7 separate regions of the Homo sapiens genome follow, and regions 1, 2, 3, 5, 6 and 7 are each linked to region 4. Evidence: promoter capture Hi-C in 16 types of primary human blood cells and fetal thymus (Javierre and others, 2016). All regions are on one chromosome and are shown on one strand. Each heading gives the region's core, a stretch centred on a gene start or on the middle of the fragment in contact. The rest is flanking DNA. Distances are from core to core; before and after follow the strand shown.

Region 1 (2,700 bases), core at 110-2,609, 4.4 Mb after region 4:
CTCTCAGATCAACAATTATCTTTATTATGTAACTGCCAGGCGTTAACTGTGTATGCTGGAAATTGAACTGTGAAGACAGTGTTTCCTGTCCTCATAAAGTATATAGAGAGGGAGACTAACATTTTAGACAGTTTAGTCAGTTTTATTGAATGCTATAAAGATGTCGTGTTATGATTATAATATATGTATACCTTATATGCACAGTATGTTACGGACGTATAACCATCTTAGGAGAGTATCAGAGGCCAGCTTCCCTTGGAGACATTGAAATTTAATGGGTGGTCCCATTATAACCTTTAGAATTCTCTATTAAAAAGTACCTGGGCAAATGCTTTTGAATTGTTGCTGTGAAAATACTATTTTGACTAGCTAATACGTTATATACCACAACTCTCAAAAGATCCTTTTGACCATCACAAATCTAAGACTGATCTACAATCTATGGGCAGATTGAAGTCCACAATTTAAATTTATGTATAACAGGTAGTATGTACAGGATCTTCTACTCCTAGCAATAACCTAGCCAGTATTATCCCTATTTTATAGATAAGGAAGTTGAGGCTCAACTATTCCAAAGTCCCCCTATTCAGCAGTTGAGTCAGTCAGTGGTCCCAACCCAGGGGTTTCAGGACGCCAAGCTCTCTTTCCACCATGCACTTGCCTACTTCTGTATCTTATTTCCAGAATCTTCTAGTGTTTAGTCGCTAGTAGGTGCCTCACAAATAAATACACGTGAAAGCCTAATGCTAAAAGTAGCATTATTTTTACTATCAACCTCACCAACACACACTACGACTTCATCCCATTAGGACTGAGAGGCTTTCCACATCTGGTTTAAAGCTTGCACAAAAAATAGTAATTCCAAGCTGTGCATTAAACCCCATTACACCCTGTTTTGTACTCAATGCCACTAATTTCCCACAACGTCGTCAGGGAAAAAAACGACAACAAAAACATCTTTTGACAATATTAGTCTTCTAAGTCCGCCTTCCACGTCCCTCTAAGGGCCCCAGCTCCGGGTCCGTCTTCTTAGGCACTCAAGGTTTCTAAACTTGGGGCTTCCAGCCGGTAAAACTAAAGGCACGGGGTTCAGGGGTCATTGGAGGCCCACGGGACCCCCTTAACCCCTTCCACCCCTTCCCTATTCGCCCATCTCCATGTCGTCTCCTTAGCCTTTGAGTGGAAAAAGCGTCAGCCCGAAATCCCCACCAAGCCCAAGAATGGGCAAAACCTCGGCGCGCACAGGACCAGCGAGAAGAGGATGGTTCCGGCCCTGAGACTAGAGCGGCGGCGACGCTCGGCGTACGCGCTGCCGTCACGCCGCAGCCCGGCAGCGCAGGCTCCTCCCACGACGCTGCGGGTCCGGTTTCCGGCGGGAGCGTGGGCCGCCAGACTCGGGAGAGGCTCCGTCTTGTGCAAGGGTCCTGTGGGCTGGCTGCACTGGCCTCTGCGGTGGTGCCTGCCAGAATGCCCCACTTGGAAAACGTGGTGCTTTGTCGCGAGTCTCAAGTGTCCATCTTGCAGTCCTTGTTTGGAGAGGTATTGTAGTTAAACTGTCTTCCAGATCCTGGAGGCAGACGTTTCGGTAGTCTTGCGACCTGTTCCAATATTTGTTTTTTCGTGTTTGGATTGAGGGCCAAAAGGCCGTTTTTACGTTAAATAGGGGTGTTGTGGTTCTGTACTGCAGCTTCACCCACAGTCTCTTCCGAATATTGAAGAGGAGACAGTCTGAGAGCGACCGGCCTGCACTATAGGACGTTGCCTAAGACGTATTTGAAACACGCCACACTTTTCAGAAGTTTGCCCACATTAGCTCCTAGAAGTTGCTTGTTATCTTACCCCAACCCAATGACATTTATGTAACAGATGTGTTTGCAGGGTGTTATTTATTCAAATGTAAGTTCACACGTTTCTGTGCGGTAGTTGGAGTGAGTCAAGTGTAGAGAGGTGGTTGCTTTCAAGGCCACTAAGGGCCAAAGCAGTGCTTCAGGTTTAAAAATTTACTGGCTTTTCCAGAATTGTAACAGTCCAGAAGAGGTCTAGGGTAAACTTTTCTCCTTAACTGATAGTTCACAGGATGCCCTAGAGAGGAGTTTGTCTTGTCTGGATGAACATAGATACGTAGGGAGTCCTTTCAATAGGCAGAGGGTAGCGTTCACCAATTCAAAATTTAACCTATTTTTGACTATTTTCTGGTGGTCTTTGATGTGCTTTTTGATTCAGACTCAATCAGAATTGGAATTAATCAAACTTGGATCTTACCTGCGAAGAGAGTGAATGAGAATTCAGGGTCATACTCATACCCCCATCTTCTGGTTTGCTTTTTTAAGTACAGTCATGCGTTGCTGCCACTTAGTGAGGGGGATACGTCCTGAGAAATGCATCGTTAGGCAATTTAATCCCTGTGAATATCAGAAAGTGTATTTACACAAACCTAGATGGTGTAGCCTGCTATACACCTAGGCTGTATGGTGTAGCCTGTTCCTCCTAGGCTATAAACCTCTACAGCGGTGCTACTATACTGAATACTGTAGGCAGTTGTAACACAGTGATAAGTCTGCATCTAAAAGTGTCTAAACATAGAAAAGGTACAGTGAAAATAGGGTATTATAATCTTATGAGATCACTGTTGTATATGTGGTCCATCTTTGAATGTACACGTGACTGTACTTTCATCCAACTAGAAATATTGCATGGCAA
Region 2 (2,700 bases), core at 99-2,598, 4.6 Mb before region 4:
TCTTCACTGGTCCTGATGCCTCCCCTTGTGGTCTCTCCAATTGCTGTTTATACTGCTCTCCAAATGCAAATCTGGTCATAGTACTCTTCTGCTGAAGACAATTCAATGGTTCCCTGTGTTCTCCAGATAAAGTCTTATATGCTCACAATATAATATTTTTCTAATCAGACCCCTGCTCACCTCTTAATCCCCTTCTCCTTACTGATTCTTATGAAAATAGCCTGTGTTTTAGCTATCATAAACTACAGACAGGCTCTCTTTCTCTGAGGCCTTTCCATCCATTGCCCCCTCTTACTAAGAAACCATCCCTGCCATATTTCTGCCATTAATATGGCTAATTCTTACTTAACTTACAGGTTTCCTCTCAGATAGTAGCTCTTCCAGGATGCCTTCTACTCTACCTGCTTTGATATGTCCATAGGAATTGATTATCATCAATTTGGTTTTCCCTTTTAGCTTCCGTAACACATCAGTAAGTATTCTTTGAAAAAATGAGAAAATCCAAATCATTTTGTTTCACGACTGGGTTGGATGTAGCACTTGTGTGAAAAGATACAACATAGTAACAACAAATTAAACCACTCAGCTTTGTATCCCAGATTCCAATGCTTGGAAACACATCTACCCAGGCCATGTTAACTCTACACGATCAAGGGTTGACAGGGGCCCTGATATCACTAAAACCAAGTCCCATAAGTATAAAAATGGGTTTATATTTTCCAGAAAGCCAAAGGCTTGAGGTTGCCAAAAGATCTCTCTAGTTTTATTAATATAAAAATTAACCTTTATTGCTGCAGGATCATCCCAGTGACATGTAGTCTGAAAGGTAATCAACTGCTTCCTTCTCACAGTGTCTAGTAGCCACCTAGCTAAAAGAGGGCAGAGCATCACACAGCTCTAACACGCTTCCTGTTCTCTAAATCTAAACAAGCATGATAACCAGAAGCAAATTCAATCAAAAGAAGTATTACTACTTTCTCAAATGACTAATACAAAACCAGCTATTTAACAACAACAAAAAAAAATACTTTAGAACCCATTTAAGGTTTGGAGTTACCTTAAATGGGTTCCCAAAGTATTTTTTTTTTGTTGTTAAATAGCTATTTTTTAATGAACCGGAGACTTCACAATATTAAAGCTTAATCTGGTATAAGCCAGTTGGCATCAAGATAAACTATACCTGTCCAATTTAGAAGAATCATTTAAATAAAACATCTAAGGTTCAACTCTCAAACACAGTATCTAAGCTATGGTTTTGAGTGTGACATGTGGGAAAAGAGGTAAAGTATGACTATTCTCTGCTTGCTTTGATGGTACAGAGGTAACAAGTATGGTAAGCACAGTTTTAATTAACCTTTCCAGAAGAAGCCATAATCCACATGGATTTTTATTAATCCTCCCTGCCAACCTGCTATTCTATGCCATATATAGTAGACTGCAGAAAGCTGAGCTACGTTACCAAGCGTGGTTGGAACTATGATGATCCACCCAGGTTCCCTCTTCAGGGTTAAAGCCTACTGCCCTCAGCTTTGAGGAATACCATCTGGTAAAAGCTTACAGATGTAACCCTGACAGAGAAATGCTCTTGGCTACAAGCAACTACCTCACTAAATACTTCTCAGGGGAGAGCCACAGTCAATGCCCAACACACGCCAAGGAATAAAGTCCCCTTTGCTTCAATTTGGAACAATTCTTAGAGACATCTCCTTTCCAGAGCTCCCTGTAAGCTCTCCCAAGACCTCAGTTGCATTGTGAGTCAGCTTTCCCCTCTACCCTATCTTCCTTTTCTCATCTCCTCACAGGTGCAGTTCTGGAGAGCACATCTCAAAAAATCTTTACATATAACTCTTCATCTCAGAATTCTACTTTCAGCCAGCCTAATGTAAAACCCACCTCTATAATTATGTAAGGCAAACACGGTGGCATATAGTAGTTTTGCTGACTTTATCAGTAGCTGGTCCTAATATCAGTCTTGGTCTTCCATTAGAAATCTGAACCTATTCACTGAGACAGAGACAAGATCTGGAATTTAATCTATGCTAAATGGCTCCAATTCCATTTAAATGCAACAAAATTTAGAAGCCAAATCATTGGTATTAAAATTTATCTAATTTTATCATTACCCAATTATAAGAGGGGTAAGAGTCCAGAAGAAATTCTCATTGAAAGAGCACAAAAAGAAAAGGATAATAAGAATGATTTATCCATAATAGATTACCATGTTTTCATAGATAATGGGAAATGTATTTTGTTCAACTTATAAAAACCCAGTTGGGCCTTTTCTAACCAAAATAAAAAGAATGGTTACAATAACATCTATTTTTCATGTTCTCAATTAATCTTTTAAAATCTGCTTTGAATGTTAATGAAAAGTTGCCAAGGAATCAACCGATTCTTTTATTTCATCCACTTCTCGATCCACAGGGTCTAAAAGGATTCTAGGTTTGGAGGCTTTGTCTTCTTGATTTTGAGTATTGTTGTTGTTTTAGTAGCACTACTTTGAAGAGTAGAAATTAAATAAGTTGGTCCACCTGACTGTGGTCTCATTTTTCTAAGCCGATGAAAACCTAAGCTTCTTTTCTAGAACATTTGGACACAAAACAAACTAAATAGAAAGGGAACCCCAGAGAAAAAATGGTGATGTGCCTCTCTTTTAAGACAATATAATTTTTAAATATACATAGACGTTGTCACACAGAA
Region 3 (2,700 bases), core at 182-2,681, 4.2 Mb before region 4:
TAACATAGTTAACTAGTCTACACCAATCAATATTGATTCACTAGTTGAGAATTTCTGTGCTATGGCACTGGATTAGGTACTAGAAGGAGCAGATGTCTGCTCTGCTCTTCAGGGGCTGACAGTGGAAACTTAAATACACTAGCATTAATACAAGGCAAAAAATAAAAACAAACATTACAGAAAACATTCTTGCACTGCAGCATCTGGTGGTACATATAAATGAAACCTGTTCACTTGACTTTTATGACACACTGTTCTTAACCCATCTAGAGGCAATTTACTTTAATATGGATACCCCTTATCATAAAGGGGCCAAATGTAAATGATGCAGCCCCTCCGTACCTCTCCAATGCAACTTCCCACCATTCTCTCCTTCACCTTCTGTGTTAGAGTCCTAGGGGGAAACACACACACCCACACACATCATGTGACCACCTTTGCACTAGCTACTCCCTCTGCCTAGAATTTCTTCCTCCTACATTTTATTTCCATGGCTAGTTTGTTTTTGTTATTCAAATCTCTGCTTAAATGCCACATCCTCTGGGACACCTTCCTATTACACATAATCGAAAATTGTCTCTTCACAATACCATAAAGTCTCTGCATAGCTCTAATTATCTGAAGTTTATCTTTGTCCATGTTCATCTGTATATATGGGCAAAGCCCTTTTCTGTCCTGTGTCTTCAGCCTAAATAAGTACCTTGCATAAAGAAGGTGATGGAATACATATTTCCAAATGGTTAATTTTACCTTCCAAAATGCAACTGTGATGATACAGGGCCACTGCTGCTGCTTAGTTTATGAATCTTTTGGGGTAGTCTAGTCCTGTTTATATTAATTAGTTTATTAATATGTTCTCATAATTAAGATATAACTCAATTTATACTTCAGGAAAGTCTAAATTGGTTTGTATAAACTGAAGCTTAGATCAATACTAAGTAACCTGGAGCCATATAATTTCTCTTCTGTGTATTCCCACACATTCATTAAAATGAATTATATCTAAACCTGAAATCCTACTTTCTTACCACGTCCGTCAGTACTCTCTCTCCAATGGCCAGCTCCCACTCCTTGCTAGTGTAAGAATTTAAGTTTGTAAACCATCATTAGCTTTTACATCTTTAAAAGGAGTATTTACCTAAATGATCTCTTCAACCCCAGGAGAGAAGTGGTACTCCAGCAGTTTCTTTATTCGTATAAGGGATACGTGATTTGTACTACTTTCCACTGGCTTTTGTATCCAGAAAGATTTGCATCACCAACCCTATGAAAACTTACTGGGGCAAAGTTCTCCTCAGGGCCTGTTTATCCAAAAAATTCACTTTGCAAGGTTATCGATAGGTTTGAAAATGATGTCTATAAAGCAGATAACAATCTTGTCACATAGTAGGGATATGACATATAGTGACTATTATTTATTTTGGCAAAGTGTCTTTTATAGCCCCATTCCTTCTCTTCATTCAGTCTTGCCTGGTCTGCACACATTCACTGTTTCATCTCCACCATCACCACCCAATTCAAAATCTGATATCAACTCCTTAGAACCATATTGAGCAAGAAAATCAGTGTTAAATTTTCTTATCTTCAATTTTTCTTCCCTATGAATTCCCAGAAAATGATGTAAGATACACACTTCACTACAACCTACCCTACAAGATTTCAATGGAAACTACAAAACAAGTCACAACACAAGATTGTCTTGTCTTTTTATCTATGAATTCACAAAGACAGGGGACCACTTATTCATTGTGCTTGAGTCAACTATTAAGCCTGAGAGGGTTCCATAAATATCAAGGATGGCTGTGTTAGGCCACTCTTGCATTGCTATACTCAAGACTGGGTAATTTATAAGAAAAGAGGTTTAATTGGCTCATGCTTCTGCAGGCTGTACAGGAAGCATAGTGCTGGCATCTGCTTCTGGAGAGGCCTCAGGAAGCTTTTACTTGTGGCAGAAGGCAAAGCAGGAGCAGGCACTTCACATGCTGAAGGCAGGAGCAAGGGAGAGTAGGGGAGGTGCCATGCACTTTGAACAACCAGATCTCGTGAAAATGAACTCGCTACCCAGAGGAAGGCACCAAGCCATGAGGAATCCACTCCCATAACCCAAACACCTCCCACAAGGCCCCACCTCTAACACTGAGGATTACATTTCAACATGAGATTTGAGTGAGGACAATTATCCAAACTATATCAATGGCCGTTAATGTGAGGAGGATCACCAGCTTTAAGAGGAGGACGGGATTAGCAACATCACAGCATTAAATAGGAAGAAAACCCTTGAAACATTTTAATTCAGTTTCTAAAGCACTGACTTCATGAGCTGTATAAAAGCACACCAGATGTTGCTTCTATCATATTCCAAAGTACCCAGATGTAACCTCATCCACGGATAATACTTGTTGGAGGCACCAACTAAAGTTATTGACCGCATTACTGTATACTCAAGAACAGATTGGAAACTTAGTATCCCCTTTTGACATGACAACAGCCTAAAAAATTACAACAGGAGCAACAGAAAAAGTAACATTTTTATAAAATACCATTTGATTCTAAATAACATTTTTTATCTTCATAACTTACTAACATAAAGCGACGATTGCCTATCCAGTATTGTGCTAAGCACTCTACAAACATTTCCTCACTATAAAATAAGTGAGGATTTTACTTACCATTTTACTAGTGAGGAAAGTGAATCTTTGA
Region 4 (2,700 bases), core at 65-2,564:
CTTTGATAGTTTGTACTGTGGTTAAGGCAGATTCTTACTTTCACAAACTCAGTAGTTAAAATATTTCTTTTACCTTTAAACCATTAAAGAAATGTTAACTTAGAATTCTTGACAATATGTATTCAATGACTTGAGATTCAAAACGAAGGGATGGATCCTGTTTTTTGAATACGGGACCACCAGAGTCCTTAGTAACCTATAATGCCATAATAAGGCTGACGAAAAACACTACGGTTTGTGGAAATTGCCTGGCTTCCTCTCCAGCGGCCTTTCCTGAGAGTAATTAGCAGGCAGGTAGATTACTTATTTCCAGAGAGTTACTCGTAGTCACGGGTACCAAGAATCAAGAACCACTTCTCGGTTTAAGGAACACAACAGTGTGTCCCATGGACGCTGCGTCAACTGCAGGTTGCTCCCTAGTCAAAGGGCGGATCTAAAACTGACAGGGAGGCGCCTCACTGGTTCAGCAGACGTTATTCCACGGTCTCAAGGTGGACATCTAATGATTTTTTTTTAGCAGACTAGTTTTGTATTGTACAGACTTCTCATCCCCAAGACGGCCCCGCCAGCCAGCAGCCCGTGCCTTATTCCCCAGCCTCGGTGGGCGGCTGGGCTAGACCCTCCAACCTTCACCTAAAGGCGACTGGCACTTTCCCTGCCCGCCCAGGCCCCGCCGCAGAAGCTGCCCGAGACCCGGGCTCTAATCCGGCGCCCGTGAAAGCCGGCGCCACAACCCAAAACACGATTCTGTGATGCGGCTGTCTCCGTTCTTCCATTCTCTCGGCCAAAAACATGCAGCCCATTGTCCCTGCGGCGACCGTGGCGGACACCGAGGCCAAGTCAGCTCACAAAGACAGGCCTGGGCTACGGGGACCCTCCGAACTCCCCTCCCCACGACCCCGGCCTCGTCCCTCACCTGCACCCTCCGACTACTGCTGCTCCTCCACAGAGCTGAGGCGCTGGCGACCCTGACGATCGGCTCGGGTCGGCAGCTTGGGCCCGGCCCCTCACCGCGGCCTCCCGGAGCTGGCACGCACCCTAATCTCGGTCGTACACCGACCTAGCGCTCCTCCTTCCCCGCCGGCGCCCAGTCCCCTCTCAGCCAGCTCCTCACAGGCAGGAGGTAGCCGCTGGCGCCACCACCTCAGAAGACCTACACGAAACGCTTCCCCATTGGCTTCTGCCTCCCCACGTGATCCCGGCGCCCTACGCGCACGTGGAAAACTGTTGTTGCTGCTAGGGCTGTGCGCCACTTCCGGCTTCAACCCCCGAAAAGGCGGTGCTTAAACCGGAGGAGGCGGAAGTGAGTCGACAGACGAGGCGGCTTTCCCGGCAGAATGCTAGCGCAGGCGCAGGGGCTCGAGAGGCCTGGACCTGTGGCGCATCCTCAGTGAGGAGGGCCGCCCTGCATCCGTCGCCGGCCCCGGTCTCCAGGGGCCTCACCCGAGTCATGCCCCGCTATTGCGCAGCGATTTGTTGTAAGAACCGCCGGGGACGAAACAATAAAGACCGGAAGCTGAGTTTTTATCCGTAAGTTGTTTCTGGAGCAGAAGCGTCAGCCTCGCCGTGAGGCCTTGGACCTGTGGCCTTTGGGCTTGGGTGTCTCCTGTCCGCTCTGCCAGTGAGTCCTCAGCTCTCCGTACGTGGCCCGTCGCCCGCGGCAAGACGGAGGGAAGGCGCTAGTTCAGTTTAGCTAGCAATGCCCTTCTTGCGCGAGGACTGCTGGCTGGTGGCGAGGCCCAGGAGCCTGTTTGGGTGTTAACAGTTAAAACAGTAAAGTTTGCGCGGGCTTCTGTGGTTTTCAGTCTTTTCCCCACTTCACGTGATCTCATTTCATTGAACAACATTAACCACCATTTAAGATACGTGAAACCTGCGAAGTGGAAAGGTGCACGCAAAGTTAATTTACACCCCCCGCGAGGTAGGTCGCATAGGTATAATTTCATCCCACTTTTCTCCTGAGGAAACTGAGGCCCGGAATGATTAGGTAACCGACCTTGAAAGTTTAGTGTCAGAGCCAGAATTATAAACTAGTCTTCTGCTTAGGGCTGTAGATACTCTGCGGAGAACAAGGTTTTATTCTGTTACTCTGAATTACTAGAGCCACGATATATTTCCATCAAACTACTGAAGCACTGATTTTTATTCAGAAGTACAGACAAGCAGTGTCGTATAATAATTAGGGGTCCAGGCTTCAATGCTAGATCCTGGTTCCACTATTCTGTAGCTTAATGACCTCTTGGAAAGTATTTAAGCTTTGGTGTCTCACATATCTCATCTGTAACATGGAGATGTTAATAGTACTCACATGATTAATAACACATGAAAAGCAACATATTTAAAATACTGCATTTCCATTTTTTCTTGTATTTAAAAACAATTCATTTAGATCTAACCTGGTTCAGATTTTCAGCAGTTGTTTTGTGCTCATTTTACTTTAGACCTGAAGGACTTATTCATTAATGATTCGGCTGCTTTCCAGTATTTTAATTAATGGAAAAAAAATTGATAACCCCACCAGGCGCGGTGGCTCACGCCTGTAATCCCAGCACTTTGGGAGGCTGAGGCGGGCAGATCACCTGAGGTCGGCAGTCTGAGACCAGCCTGACCAACATGGAGAAACCCCGTCTGTACTAAAAATACAAAATTAGCTGCGCGTGGCGGCGCATGCCTGTGATCTCAGCTGCTCGGGAGGCTGAG
Region 5 (2,700 bases), core at 159-2,658, 4.5 Mb before region 4:
TGAGCTTCATTTATACCTAGATTCTAAGGACTGGGGAGTTTAAATTACTTGGAGAGGTAAAATTACATCATTTGATAAAATAAATGGTGACTTCAAAGTAACAAAAAATTTTTTTCTGTAACTTATAAACCAAATTAAATGGTTATTACACTATCTAATGTATTGCTTTTTAACTAAAAAAATCATAACATTAGATAATTAGTATATATGGTAATGATATATAGATGACATTAGATAATGATATGGTATATATGGTAATGATATATAGATAACATTAGATAATATCAGAATGACCCATACCTTACCTGTCCTCAGCAAAACTGTTTTCACTCTTCCAAGCCATCTTCCACCTGCATAAATTTAATGAAACTGGATTGGAACATGCATACCATTTTGTCTTCTAGTTTTGTTTGTCTGTTTAACATGTAAGTGTTTCACGGATATTTTAACAATCAAGTAATATTCTACCCCTTATATTTACCATTACTTATTCCAAAACAATACCTTTAATAATGCTGGACATGCCAATGGTATTTAACATCTTGTCATTATTGATAACACTATAATAAGCTTATTATAATACTATAATAAGCAAAATAGATAATTTCTACCAAGTACCAAAAATATATTCATATCCTTTGAACCTGTGGTTTCAGCCTAGAAATTGACTTCTGTATATTAATTCTTACATTATAATTCATCCGTTGCAAATATATACATAAAAATATATCTAATGTGTCTATTGTCCTGATCTTCTAAAGAAGCAAGTTTTCCAACATGGAGGATAACTGAGGTGACTATATACTACTGTACCAGAAATGCTAGAGGTCTGGGTTTATAAAAGACACTCTGAATTCTAGGTGTGGAAAGAAAAGTTTCTAACCCAGGAGAGAAAGTAACAAATCTCCTGTTAGAGAAAAAGTTCAGAGTCACTGTGCACTTTTATAATAAGCAGTTCATAAGAGGGATCAAAAAAAGACTCAGCATATTAAGTGAAAGAAGTATTATATGGTCTTCAATATTCATTTTCAAGATTATTCTTATTGTTTTCATAATTAAAATTAAAACATTATTTGTCCAGTGATCTCTACATTTTTTATTAGTGGTCCATACTAATGATAGCTATCAAGAAATATTATTAATTAAACATTATTACAATAATAAGTACCAAACCACACAAAGAAGTGTTTCTTTCCTCGGTGGTGTTGCAAAGTGACAGAAGTTTATGGCTATGAAAGTCTGTGACATAATTAAAAGAGCACTAAACAAGGAGTCAAAACCATATGAATCCTAGTTCTGGCTATGCTGCAAACAGGCTGTAGGGCACCAGCAGAATCACTCGCAAGTTATTTGGGGACTCATTTTCTTAAAGAAAAATATAAATAAGTAGAAATTGTGTACCCCAAACACATTCACTGCTGAGCACTTAAAACTAGAATTCCCCTTTGAAGGAAGATGAGCAAGGTGAAGGAAGGCTTAGGCAAACAGAATACCCAGAAGTGGGGCCAGCCTTGAAAAGCTACAGAAACAGTTTCCTGATAGATGACATGACTTAAGGAAAGCCATCAGGAAACATCCTAAACACAAATGCCTAAGTTCTATACACTCTCCAGTACTTTTGTGATACCTGATTAATGGTGCCTCTTCTGGGTCTTGCAGGCCTAGAGGTCTTCTGGCTCTTGATACTGAATGCTAATATGACTTTGGGGTCTACACATTAAACTAAAAATAAAAACCTCCAAATGGAACTCCAAAGTGGGATTAAACACCTGATATTGGGTTTAGAGAGAAGAATGAAGGATAAAATTACCAGAAGTGGGGAGAAGGGATGTGGATGGACAATGCACCAAAAATACATAGAAAATTATACCATGTGAGCAAAAGTTGGTCCTACCTAAAAGAAGTTTAAAGTTTTGCTTTATAGTTCATTAAATTAAACATGCCAGCCTAATAGCAATATTCTTAAAAATAGAAAACTTGTCCTTCCTGCTTTGCATTATTCTTGAACACCCAAGATAAAGCATTTAATACAATACACATTCAATAAACATTTGTAGTCTGACTTAAGAACTCTGTCCACAGAAAAAGCCCAAATGGTTTAGATGACAAAACAAAAGATATCATAGGAAAAAATATAATCTATTTCGGCAGCCTGACAAAAATTAAGTAGAATTAAAATAAAATTCAGATTAGAAGCATTACCATAAAAATATAAAATGAAAGCAAGGAAAGAGCACTCAAGCTTTTGTACAAAGATGGACATCTCCAGTTTGTTTATATTTTTGTTTTTTCCAGATAATGCTGGCATAAAGTGGTTGCTATAGCAGTTGTTTTATTTGTATAAATTTAAGGCGCACAAGTGCAGTTTTGTTAAATTGATACTTTGTATGGTGGTGAACCCCAGGCTTTTAGTGTTACCAATACCTGAATGATGTAAATTGTACCCAACAGATAATTTCTCATCCCTCAACTCCCTCTCATCCTCCCAACTTCTGGAGTCTCCAGTGGCTTTGATTCCGCTCTGTATGTTCATGTGTAGCTCCCACTTATAAGTGAGAACATGAGGTATTTGGCTTTCTGTTTCTGAGTCATTTCACTTAAGATAATGGCCTCCAGTTCCACCCATGCTGTTACAAAAGACATTTCTTTCTTTCCTATGGCTGAGTAGAATTCCATTATACACACACACACACACACACA
Region 6 (2,700 bases), core at 40-2,539, 4.4 Mb before region 4:
GCTCCTGTTTCAATCAACTATGGCTGAAGAGTGAGGAGACATTTGGAATAAATATGGCTTCTGGGGGCCCATTCCTATGGATCAGCAGCTGGCTTCTGGAGGCCCATTCCTGTGAATCGTCGATCTCATAGAAGATAATATTGTTAGAAGGTAGGTAGGCAGTTCTCAAACTGTGAAGCTATTGGAAGGTGTTTTTGTTTTTGTTTTTGTTTTAAGCATGGCATGGAAGGAACATGCTCAAATCCATCATTTAAAAAAGAGAACTCCAGCAGCAATATGAATAATAGATTGGAAGGGAGATTAACCAGATTCAAAGAGGTAAGCCCAATGAGAAAACCATTAAGAAAAGTTACAAGCAAAAAATAAGAGACTATTTTTTGTATTGGGAGAGTAATAGTAGCAATGGAAAGGCATGGGCAGATACTGAACACATTTCAGAGGTTGAATGGACCATATTTGAATATAAGTAGTGAGGAAAGGTGTAAAGGAAATGAATACTTCAAGATTCCTAGCTTGGGCAATAGGATAGATAGGATTGCTGAGAATTGAGACAAGGAAAACAAGAAAAGAAAATACGAGATTGGAGAGGGCAATCTTGAGCCTGAAAAGTTACAGTACATTCAATGTCAGATCCAAAGCTTCAGAATGTTGAGTAATCAGTATTTGAGAGATACATAGGTAATAGTTGGTGCTTCAGGATCACATAAGATCATTCAGAAAATTCATGTAGAGTGAGAAAAGAGAGTAGTTTGCTCAGAAAATTCCAGCAGAAGAGATGGTACTAAAAGAAAGATAAAGAGCAAACAGAGACACATGGGAAGAATAAGAGCTGCATCTTAGAAGCCAAGAAGGAGTTTTAAGAAGAAGGAAATGATAAACAATCAAATTCTGCAGAAAAGAAAAGTAGGATGAGAGCTGAAAGAGGCTAACATATTTGACAATCACATCATTGCTGACCTTTCTCGAAGCAATTTCCGCAGAGTTGCGGGGGTGAAAACCAGGTTGCAGTGGGCTGAAATTAGACCGAGAGACAAGGAAGTGGAAGCAATGCCTATGACCTACTCTTTCCAAAACGGTGTCAACTGAAGTATATACTGCTAGATAATGGTTTATTCTGTTAAAATTTATTTTATCACTATATTGTTTGGACTAAAACTAGATCATTAAAAAGCTCGAATTGAACCATGGACTCCTGACTTCCACATTTCTAGAAGTCATCTTGCCTGCAGGCAAATTAATTCTATAGCCTTCTGTAGACATAGCTCCAATAATATATCTCATCCTTATTTTCAGTGGTATTCATGGTATTTATTTTCAGTGGTATTCATGGTATTGTCTCCCACCATCTTTCCCTTTTACTCCATCTCAGCTCTCAGACACATGACATTTTTGCCAATCTCATTACAACTTGTGCTCATTTTCTCAAGTTTCCTATCAACTGGGGTAATTGCTTCCTACAAAACCCACTCTCCTATTAACTGGCTCATTACCTTGAGTTAAAAGTTCAGAAACTTCTTCAAAGTGAAATCACTGTAGAGTCCTGAAAAGAAACTACTTTTGAAGTTACTGACACATGTGTATGCCAAGACAATTCTTGGGTTGTATTCAATGATTTACAGACCCAACCCATTCCTTGTTAAGTTTCTATCAGCATCAATTTTCCTCCTTCACTATAATGGTACATTTATTACTCTCCAAGTCATAATAGTAGACATATAGAGTAGAAGAAGACAAAATCAGTTAATGTGTTGATCACAGCGCTATGTTGATAGAGCTAATGTGGTTCAGAAAAGAAATACTATTAAAGTTCCTCTAGTTCTCTCTCCAGCTGAAGACAATTAGCTTAATAACCATTTCTACTCATTATTTCCATGCTAACTAGTTTTATCTTTGCATTTTTTAGGCTTACCTCATTGATGCTGAACATCCTAAAAAGCTTCTGCTGCTTTGAGTCACTGAAAAAGACCAAGAAACATGAATTTAAAAAAAAATTTCAAATGTTATAAAATAAATAATATGAACTCATTATACCTACAATGAATAATTTAAATTCTTCTTTGGTAGTCCAGGTAAATAACTTCTCAAATAGATTTTTTTAAGCATCTGTATAAGTTCAAGATGTACATCACTTCATGTAGAATAACATCTCCTAAAAAGAACTGAAATGCCTCAGTATACAACCAGCTGACCTGGCTATCAAACACTTATTTAGCACATATTACATGATGGACACTTTGATGTAGATACGGACCTTGGGTTGTGTCCTCAAGGATCATACAGTGGGTTGAGGAAATAGGATATGCTATCCATAGGAAAGTAAATAATAATATGACAGCTTATTTTCAATGAGAAGTGAATAGTACAAAGAATAGGAGTTGCCAGATTTCAAAAGGAAAGAGCTATCACACAGAGGCGGAACAATTAGAAATTTTTCATGAAGGAAGTGTTCTTTGTGCTGGACCTTTGAGAAAGTATAGAATGTAGATTAGCAAAAAGGCATGGAAAAGGCATGATAGGTAGGAGAGGCAAGTTAGGCAAAGGTCCATTAGAATTGCTCAAGATATAATAGACCAACTTGGCCTGAAAAAGGCCTGGAAGTATCCTCTTTTGTGCTCTGTGAGAAGTTTGCCACCATGTAAAAAGTCTAACTACCCTAAGGCAACCATGCTCTGAGAAGCCCAACCTATCCAGGTGGAGAGG
Region 7 (2,700 bases), core at 151-2,650, 4.4 Mb before region 4:
CCACTCCAGACCAGTTAAATGAAACTTCTGGGTGATTCCAATGTGCAGCCAGAATTGGCAGCCAGAGTTGAGAACCACTGCCAGAAATCTAACAAATAATGCAGTTGCAGAGACTAAATAACTGCATTTGACTGACAAAAGACCATTTGTTTGTGGTTAGTAGAGTCTGTGTACTTTCCTCTGTTGCAAAGCTTTGCTCATATCCATGAAAGTTCATGAATTAAAAACTTATGAAGAGAAGCAAAGTTTGTGGTTAGGAGCATGACTTTAGCTTTTGACTACCAGGTTTGTTGTGTAACCTTGGAAAAGTTTACTTAATCGCTCTACTTCAGTTTCCTCATCTATAAAGTAAAATATCTGCCTCAATGGATTGGTATTATAATTAAATGAGTTAATATTTGAAAAGCACTTAAAACAACATTTGGCATATAGGAAACACACTAAGCTTGTAAAATACAGAAATTTAAAAATAACAGCTCTTTTATCTGTAGCTATACTGCTTCAATGCATTTAAGGACTATGACATTAAAGACTGGATGGCTCCTGGAATTTTTACCTAGACTGTTCTGTAGTCTTCTCAGTATTAAAATGACTTTTTCTTTTTCTTCTTTTTTTTTTTTTTGCCCCTTTTGCTGTTTGTGTTTCTAAGTTTTTATATGAAAAGTCCAACCTTTTTAGCATGTCAGAATATTGGTGGTGTTTTCTTCCCACATTAGAGAAATGACTATTCATAACATGTTGGCTATAAGATGCAGGTTTTCAAACTTTTTGTTTTCTGGTTACTTTTTGGCTCTTAATTACCAAACACCTTGGATGTTTTTTATCCCACTTTTAGATGTGTCACTGTATCAGGTGCTCAAGAGCTGAGAAGACTGGTCGTTGTATGGCTTAACTATGTAAGACAATCTGAATTCTGAACATTTTGTTTTAATGCCTTGAAATGGTAGCTGAACTTGTTTGCACTTAGTCATGAGTTTCTTTACTTACCTTGTGTTAGAGAAAATGACCATTAAAGGTACTTTGAACTTGAATTTGGTAGTCTTGTCATCTACAGATAAGGCATCTTAGGGCCCGTATTTGGCAATATGCCTAAGTCAGAATCAAATAAATTGTTCTGAATTTCTAAAAGTTTAAGACTTTTGATACTCATGTATTTTTTTGCTTTTTTAGAGAATTTGATGGCCCTCAAATTTAATGAAATATAATCTTAATTTTGTAACATATACCATGCTTGTGGCACATCATTTTTAAAAATTAAATTTATTGAGATATGATTCATGTACAGTAAATTGTGTCTTTTTAAAGTATATAATTCCGTAAGTTTTGACAATGCATGCATCTCTGTAAAACCATTACCACAATAAGGCGTAGAACATTTTCATCACTGCCAAAATTTTCTCATACTTCTTTGCAGTCGGTCTCTCTCTATACTCTCAGTCTCACATGTCTTTTCACTATAGATTCACCTCCATTTATTTTCGTTTCTTAGCTATTGTGAGTAATGCTGCAATGATTATAGGATTGCAGATATCTCTTTGACATACTGATTTCATTTCCTTTGGATAAATACCCATAGTGGGATTGCTGAATCATGTAGTAGTTTTATTTTTAATTTTTTTAGGAACCTCCATACTGTTTTGGCTGTACTAATTTACATACCCAACATAAGTATACAGGATTCACTTTTCTTCACATCCTCACCAATGCTTGTTATCTCTGGTCTTTTTGATAATAGCCATCCTAACAGATGGGAGGTAGTATCTTATTGTGGTTTTAATTTGCATTTTCCTGATGATTAGTTTTGTTGAGCACCCTTCTATATACCCATTGGCCATTTTTTGTGTTGTCTTTGGAAAAATATCTATTCAGGTCATTGCCCATTTTTTAGTCAGATTATTTGTTTTTTTGCTATTCAGTTTGAGGTTTTTTTTATATATCTTTTGGATATTAACCCCTTATCAGGTATATGGTTTGTAAATATATTTTTATCTTAAAATGGCATCACATATATACTTGCTAACTTATTTTCTGTGCTTTGTATGTTTTAAAAAGGAGAATTAGGATAGAGTTATTGAGAAAAAATATTATTTTTATACACATCAAGTATATAAAAATCAAGTGGTCCTGGCATGTAAAAATGCATGAACCTTAGCACCACCTATTCATTTTTTTCACATATAAGTAATTCTTTATCTATTTGGTGGTGTTACTGTTCATTTCTCCTTGAGCTAATAAATTTTTCGAAAAGATCTGTGTACTGCTATTAAAGAACTTAATGGATATGACTGGACTGTCAGCTGCAAGGTTTTCTTTTGACAATAACACAAAATGAAAAAGCCTTTTTAATAAGCTTAAAACAATGGTCTCTAGAAAAATGACATTGAAATTATTGCTTTTCTGACCTTGGAACTCTTACTTTGAAAACAGTAACTATTGTGAAAAATTTAAATTCTGCTTTTGAGTGACTGCTATTTATTGAAAGCCATCCTCTGTAGTTTGAATTTTATCTTAGCAACTAATTTAATTTGTTTATACTTTTCATGTTTATTTTTTGAGCATGATGAAAATTTAAATATTTTGTCCTCCACTGACTGAGCACCCTAATTAACTTCTCTAATTTATACAAATTGTAAATCAAAAGTAGTCTTTGCTTTTCCATTTATACTTTCTATTGGGAAAATCACACCTGGTTTTAATAGA

What was found. Contacts are between HindIII fragments. The CHiCAGO score rates a contact against its expected background, and 5 or more counts as called.
Region 1: the fragment with the promoter of ORC5 here is called in contact with the fragment with the promoter of THAP5 in region 4 in 1 of 17 cell types (total CD4 T cells); the score reaches 5.6 in total CD4 T cells.
Region 2: a fragment that was not itself captured here is called in contact with the fragment with the promoter of THAP5 in region 4 in 4 of 17 cell types (non-activated CD4 T cells, total CD4 T cells, activated CD4 T cells and 1 more); the score reaches 11.4 in non-activated CD4 T cells.
Region 3: a fragment that was not itself captured here is called in contact with the fragment with the promoter of THAP5 in region 4 in 1 of 17 cell types (activated CD4 T cells); the score reaches 5.0 in activated CD4 T cells.
Region 5: a contact is called between a fragment that was not itself captured here and the fragment with the promoter of THAP5 in region 4, in 4 of 17 cell types (total CD4 T cells, activated CD4 T cells, non-activated CD4 T cells and 1 more). The highest score is 14.5, in total CD4 T cells.
Region 6: a fragment that was not itself captured here is called in contact with the fragment with the promoter of THAP5 in region 4 in 2 of 17 cell types (total CD4 T cells and non-activated CD4 T cells); the score reaches 11.0 in total CD4 T cells.
Region 7: a fragment that was not itself captured here is called in contact with the fragment with the promoter of THAP5 in region 4 in 8 of 17 cell types (total CD4 T cells, non-activated CD4 T cells, activated CD4 T cells and 5 more); the score reaches 17.9 in total CD4 T cells.

The regions. Positions count from the first base shown.
Region 1 is chr7:104,206,672-104,209,371 of GRCh38, reverse strand. It overlaps ORC5 (origin recognition complex subunit 5), which reads left to right and starts at 1,359. Exons shown (of 14, transcript NM_002553.4): 1 at 1,359-1,539. The coding sequence starts at 1,468. RefSeq lists enhancers at 1,181-1,340, 1,391-1,470, 1,511-1,700. The HindIII fragment of the contact is 7,936 bases long and covers 843-2,700 here.
Region 2 is chr7:113,128,881-113,131,580 of GRCh38, reverse strand. All of the region lies in intron 2 of LOC107986837, which reads right to left. Among named protein-coding and RNA genes, the nearest start is that of SMIM30, 12 kb to the right of the region's middle. The HindIII fragment of the contact is 415 bases long and covers 1,141-1,555 here.
Region 3 is chr7:112,810,601-112,813,300 of GRCh38, reverse strand. No RefSeq gene overlaps it. Among named protein-coding and RNA genes, the nearest start is that of TMEM168, 22 kb to the right of the region's middle. The HindIII fragment of the contact is 1,014 bases long and covers 925-1,938 here.
Region 4 is chr7:108,568,320-108,571,019 of GRCh38, reverse strand. It overlaps THAP5 (THAP domain containing 5), which reads left to right and starts at 1,314. Exons shown (of 3, transcript NM_001130475.3): 1 at 1,314-1,530. The coding sequence starts at 1,451. It overlaps DNAJB9 (DnaJ heat shock protein family (Hsp40) member B9), which reads right to left and starts at 1,146. Exons shown (of 3, transcript NM_012328.3): 1 at 917-1,146. RefSeq lists enhancers at 991-1,718, 1,252-1,731. The HindIII fragment of the contact is 6,219 bases long and covers 1-2,257 here.
Region 5 is chr7:113,105,405-113,108,104 of GRCh38, reverse strand. It overlaps LOC107986837, which reads right to left. Exons shown (of 4, transcript XM_047421162.1): 2 at 306-350. Among named protein-coding and RNA genes, the nearest start is that of SMIM30, 12 kb to the left of the region's middle. The HindIII fragment of the contact is 1,672 bases long and covers 573-2,244 here.
Region 6 is chr7:112,953,972-112,956,671 of GRCh38, reverse strand. HRAT17 (heart tissue-associated transcript 17) reads left to right here. Exons shown (of 6, transcript NR_110162.1): 5 at 1-150; 6 at 1,904-2,037. Among named protein-coding and RNA genes, the nearest start is that of SAMTOR, 15 kb to the right of the region's middle. The HindIII fragment of the contact is 1,298 bases long and covers 641-1,938 here.
Region 7 is chr7:112,928,450-112,931,149 of GRCh38, reverse strand. All of the region lies in intron 1 of SAMTOR (S-adenosylmethionine sensor upstream of mTORC1), which reads left to right. Among named protein-coding and RNA genes, the nearest start is that of SAMTOR, 10 kb to the left of the region's middle. The HindIII fragment of the contact is 1,905 bases long and covers 448-2,352 here.